Regions from separate parts of the Homo sapiens genome. Here region 2 is linked to region 1. Evidence: promoter capture Hi-C in 16 types of primary human blood cells and fetal thymus (Javierre and others, 2016). All regions are on one chromosome and are shown on one strand. Each heading gives the region's core, a stretch centred on a gene start or on the middle of the fragment in contact. The rest is flanking DNA. Distances are from core to core; before and after follow the strand shown. Region 1 has its middle 110 kb from the start of GAPVD1. Region 2 holds the start of MIR181A2HG (MIR181A2 host gene).

Evidence for each region. The method cuts DNA at HindIII sites, captures the fragments that hold promoters and counts their contacts. A CHiCAGO score of 5 or more calls a contact.
Region 2: a contact is called between the fragment with the promoter of MIR181A2HG here and a fragment that was not itself captured in region 1, in 1 of 17 cell types (naive CD4 T cells). The highest score is 5.3, in naive CD4 T cells.

The regions. Positions count from the first base shown.
Region 1 is chr9:125,371,988-125,374,791 of GRCh38, reverse strand. No RefSeq gene overlaps it. Among named protein-coding and RNA genes, the nearest start is that of GAPVD1, 110 kb to the right of the region's middle. The HindIII fragment of the contact is 3,508 bases long and covers 1-2,804 here.
Region 2 is chr9:124,657,114-124,659,813 of GRCh38, reverse strand. MIR181A2HG (MIR181A2 host gene) reads right to left here and starts at 1,378. Exons shown (of 2, transcript NR_038975.1): 1 at 1,073-1,378. All of the region lies in intron 2 of NR6A1 (nuclear receptor subfamily 6 group A member 1), which reads left to right. RefSeq lists enhancers at 341-390, 1,212-1,331. The HindIII fragment of the contact is 901 bases long and covers 914-1,814 here.

The DNA.
Region 1 (2,804 bases), core at 112-2,611:
GCAGTGGCTGCAAATCTCGGGATTTCTAGCAGAACGGGGCGCTGTTGCCCTCAGAGGACGCCGATTTGTAGATGCCACCTAAAGATAATAAATTCGAAAATAATAAGTAAATAGGGACAAAAATCCCACCTTCCCAGAGTAAAATTAAACCCTGCTAGCCAGATAAAGGGCTGCAAACAGACAAGACACTTTGGTGTGATCAGGGCTGCAACCCAGGCAGGCACTGAGCTGGGCTCCAGGCATCCTCATCCCGGCCCTGTGCTTGGTGGGGTGGGAGCAGACACAGGAGAGGTGTGACCTGGTGTGGCACAGCCTCTGCCCCACCTAATTCTACCCACTGGAGATCAAGGGCTTTGGGGCACTCTGTCTTCCCAGAGGACGTGAAGAACTACCTGGCCCTGGACCACGACAGGGATAGTTCCTGTCCCAGCAGGGCCTGAATTTGGAAGGAAAAGATGGTGGAATCCCCGCCCTGAAGGGCTACTTTCTGCCTCTCATCCATCCCCATCTGCAAACATTAGGGACACCTGCCATTTGGAGGCATGCCCTCCCCTAGGAGCACAGGCTCCAGGGAGACACTGCTCTGGAGAGGGAGGGATGGGGGTGAGGCCTCACTGAGGAGGGAGGCAGGAGGGGGCACCTGGGGTTTTCCTCCAGAAGGGCCATCTGAGGCAGGAGGAAGGACTGTGGGGGAGGCAGTCAGATCTGGGCATCAGCAAAGGCTTAGAGGCCGGCAAAGGGCAGCACTTTGGGAAAGGTGATAGTTCTCAGTGGCTGGAGTGGGGCTGGCTGGAGGGGAAGGAGAAGGACCAGAGGCATGTGGCTGAAAAGGCAGGACAGAACCCAGGTAGAAAAGAGAAGATTTTAGGCAGAAGAGGAATCTGCTCAGACTTGATGAATTTTTTTGTTTGTTTGTTTTTGAGGTGGAGTTTTGCTCTTGTTGCCCGGGCTGGAGTGCAATGGCGTGATCTTGGCTCACTGCAACCTACGCCTCCCGGGTTCAAGTGATTCTCCTGCCTCAGCCTCTCGAGTAGCTGGGATTATAGGCATTCACCAACACGCCCAGCTAATTTTGTATTTTTAGTAGATACGGGGTTTCTCCATGTTGGTCAGGCTGGTCTCGAATTCCTGACCTCAGGTGATCCACCCACCTCGGCTTCCCAAATTTCTGGGATTACAGGTGTGAGCTACCGTGCCTGGCCAGACTTGATGAATTCTAAGGGCACCTAGGAGAAGGGGTGAGAGGGAGGCAGGGAGACTAGGAGTCAGTCGTGATTGTGGAGGTGGAAAAACTGGCTGTGGCAGCGGGGGACAGGTTTAAGAGACATTTCCCAGCCAGGCGCGGTGGCTCACACCTGTAATCCCAGCACTTTGGGAAGCCAAGGCGGGTAGATCACTTGAGGTCAGGAGTTCGAGACCAGCCTGGCCAACATGGTGAAACACTGTCTCTACCAAAAGCACAAAAATTAGCCAGGCATGGTGGCGTGTACCTGTAGTCCCAGCTTCTCAGGAGGCTGAGGCAGGAGAATCGCTTGAACCCAAGAGGCAGAGGTTGCAGTGAGCCGAGATTGTGCCACTGCACTCCAGCCTGGGCGACAAAGTGAGACCCTGCCACACACACACGCACAACACAAAAGAGACATTTGCCAAGGGCCCCTCAGGAGGTTTGGGCAATCCAGAGCCTGGGCCAGGGAAGAAGGCTGGGCAGCGGCAGGCATGAGTGACAAAGAGGCGTGTAGGGTGGGGCACATAGGGATGAAAGTATCTGGACCCAGAAAGGCATCATGTGTCAGGAATCACTCCACTGTGGTTACTGTTTATGACCACAGTGGAAAGGGACTTGAGCTCACAACCCAGCCTGTTAGTTGATAAACTGCCTCCTGGGTACAGTGTCCAATATTTGGGTGATGGGTAGGCTAGGAACCCAACCCCATCATTATGCATGTAATACCCATGTAACAAACAAGCACAGGTACCTCCTGAATCTAGAATAAAATAAAAAAATGGGTTCTCTTGGCTGTCCATGGTGGCATCACCCCTGCCATCAAGGGGCTGCACCCCACTGAGTACTTGCCGCCCTTGGCCAAATGCCTCAGTCAGACGCAGATACCAACCAGCAGGGACTGGCAAGAACTGTGACAGCTGCAGGGCTGGGTGCTGCTGCTCTTGCCTTTGCAGGTCGCTGTGCGTCGCAGTCCTGGAAACCTCTAGAACAAGGATCACAGAAGCAGTAGAGAACCTTTGAACTCCTAGCCTGTCATCCTATTACAAAGGAGGATTTGAACAGAAAATGAGTAGGAGAAAAGCTAGTGTTATTTTAGGTGTAAGTTCACCTGCTGGCAAGGCTAAGATTAGAGCAGCTCACAGGAGAATCGTGATTTTGAATCACCCAGATAAAGGTGGATCTCCCTACTTAGCAACCAAAATAAATGAAACAGAAGATTTGCGAGAAGCGACCACCGATCACCGATGGATGCTCAAGAACCCCGCTGAGGAAAAAAGGCAGGGCGCCTTTAAAAAATCCTGCAAATCAATCTACAACATGATCTTCTTAATTTTCATACATGCATAGACCACAATCTTTTCTTCTCCCATTAAGCTATTATAACAATAAAAGATTAATAATGTCCAGGCGCGGTAGCTCACACCGGTAATCTCAGCACTTTTGGAGGCTGAGGCAGGAGGATAGCTTAAGCCCAGGAGTTGAAGACCAGCTTAGGCAATATAGCGAGACCCCACCTATAAAAAATACAAAAAAATTAGCCAGGCGTGGCGGCATGCACCTGTAGTCCCAGCTACTCAGG
Region 2 (2,700 bases), core at 129-2,628, 710 kb after region 1:
TAATTCATAATTCTCATTTTTCTGTGGAAAATTATTTTATCTTTCTCCTGTATACCTGAAAAAATGTCCATAGGCTTAAAGGGTCATGCTTTTACATTCCTTCCATATCACAGGTACTATGAAGTAAGGAGACTTTTAGGTTTCTTTTTGTCTTAAACTCAGACAGCTTTGTAAGCAGTAGTGTGTAGATTACAAGAGTTAGACAAAAGCAGGCGCGACTGAGAAGAGTTGGTGGGGGAGAAGCTTGGGGCACTTCCTGTCACTCAACACATTCCAGATCACTAAAAAATTTCCACACCCTCTGCATTCCCCCTTGCCCACTCCAGTTCCCGGTATTTTCTGATTCCATATGTTGTGGTATTTACCATACTTCTCTCCCTCACTAGGCTCTGGCAAGACTGCTTCAGAGGGGATGCATTCCTTTAGATTGCACAAAGCGGAGCTGGGAAAATGGCTGGCAGTTTCAGAATCTAGTCACGATCGCACGCATGAGCACCTCACACATCCATGTCCCTACCCGCCCCCCCGCTCCCGCCCCTGCAGCTGGCTGACCTGTCTCACCCACTGCTGGCCTATCGAACGGCCAGGACTGTCTGGTTTTGGCTCGTGCCTTTGTCCATGTCTGGCTTAGTTCCTCTCTGTCTATGCTTGCCTCTACCCCCACCGCCCCAGGCGGCACAAGTGTTTGGCCACACAAAACTAGAGATAGAAAAGGTGGTAAAAACTTCAAACTTTTCTAAATTCTCCAACAGTTTATTTCTTGTGAATTTCTTCCTTCTTTAAATACTCCATTTTAAGAAAACAAAAAAATTAATTATCTAAAGGCAAAGAATGGAAAGCAACCTTTGTGTTCCTTATAATAACTGACTTCATAACTCTCTCCAGCTGCGTTATGGGATGTGTATAAAAAGCTTCTGTTCTGAGAACAAAGGAGCACGTGCAGAAATGAGACGAAAAAATCCACTGACAGTATTCCATTACACAAATTACTTAAAAGATTTTAGTCAAGCCCCTCAACAGATTCAATTTTAAAATGGCTTTTAGTTAAAAAAAAAAAATTGAAAGTGCTTACCCAGTAAAAGAACCGAAGTAGTCCTGAACTGTTACGTAAGACTTTTTACAGTTGGATCTTTGTCAAAAGGGGATGGGGGTGATGGGAGAAAGCAGCAACGACAATCAAAAAAGTTCGAGCTGCTGTGGCTAGAGGACAACTTCTGTGTTTCCAGATAGGATTCTTGCTGTAGAAATGGAACTTCCAGCCAGCACAGCATCCTGTCCCAGTAGAGAAATGAGTTTGTCAGTTAAAACAAAAAAAAAATTAGATACTGGAACCCAGGCTAGACGAGGTATTGAACCGCGCCAGATTTCCTTGCAGCCCTGTCTGCTCAGCTCGCATTGAACTATATATGACCCAGATGATGGACAGAAGCACATTTAGTCATGTGCACACTGGAAGAAAGCGGATTTGCTGGTCCCTGGCAGTGCAGGGGTTTGTCTTCTGATTGGGCTGTGCCCTGATCGGTGAAATGTGAAGCCCTCACCATTCAGAGGCCGTAATTCAGGACTGGCAGTTTGAGTGTCTGGCTGCCTCTAGTCACTGAGAGACTTTGAAGGTGTTGCTTTTGTTTGGTGGCATTACCCACCCAGAGGTTGCTTACACCTCTCTACTTGTGTCAGAAGAAATACTAGTCTTTCTGAAATACAAATAGGCAGCCGATTTTTCCTGAATCCTAAATCACCCTATTGTTGATAAACTTGGCTCTAACTGAAACCAATTATTTGATTTGAAAATTTATTGTGATCCTAACCAAGCTTCATATCCAGACCAACCCTTGGTCTTGATTTTATAGGTTTGATAAGGTAAAAATAAAAGTGGCATATTTGACTTTGAAGCCTCTATATGATATAAATTGCTCTTAATGAAAATTGGATAGATGGACAACAGAGAAGTGAAGTTTTAGATTCTGGAGTGTTTGGATGTATGAGGAAGAAGCTTTATGTCTTTTTATCCCCTTTGTGAGACTGTCACTCTTGTCCCAGTCCTAGTCACATTAGGGGTTGCTGGGGGGGGGAAGCTATGAAAGCATGGACCCTACTGAGCTGTGACATAGCCTTTAATCATGCAAGACAGCCACGGTCTGCTCTCTTCAGTCTGTCTGAACTAGGGTCCTTGGGGTTTATTTTCCATCTTTCTGAGCCACTGGGAAACCAGGTCATTATACAGGACTGTCATTTGTGACATTTTTGTTTAGTACATGGCAGTTGCTTTGTTTATTTAATGCAAGTTGACACTTCTTTAAAGTTTCAAAACAGTAAAGTTGTTTTGTGAGACCTTGACTCTGATATATGAAATCTACTCTACATGGACCAATCATTTTTTTCCGTGGACTTTCTTGTCTCTTTAGAAATTAGCTTATAGAGTCCTAAATTGATACTTAAACATACCAATAGTTCTGTTTATTTCTTGCCTTTCTCACAGTTGTTGAAATAATTCCATCTGTCTCTTTTGCTGTAAATTTTGGGTTTGGATGTTTGTACTTGGAATTTTTTAGATGTTGACTATATTATGCAGCACCTTCCATATGAGGACTACCCCAGAATTATTCTCTTGTCTTAACCCGAGAAAAGCTGTTTTGATGCACTATTAGATATAAGAATGTTCGAAAGAAGAGGAGATGAGCACTCTCTTGCTTTTTGTAA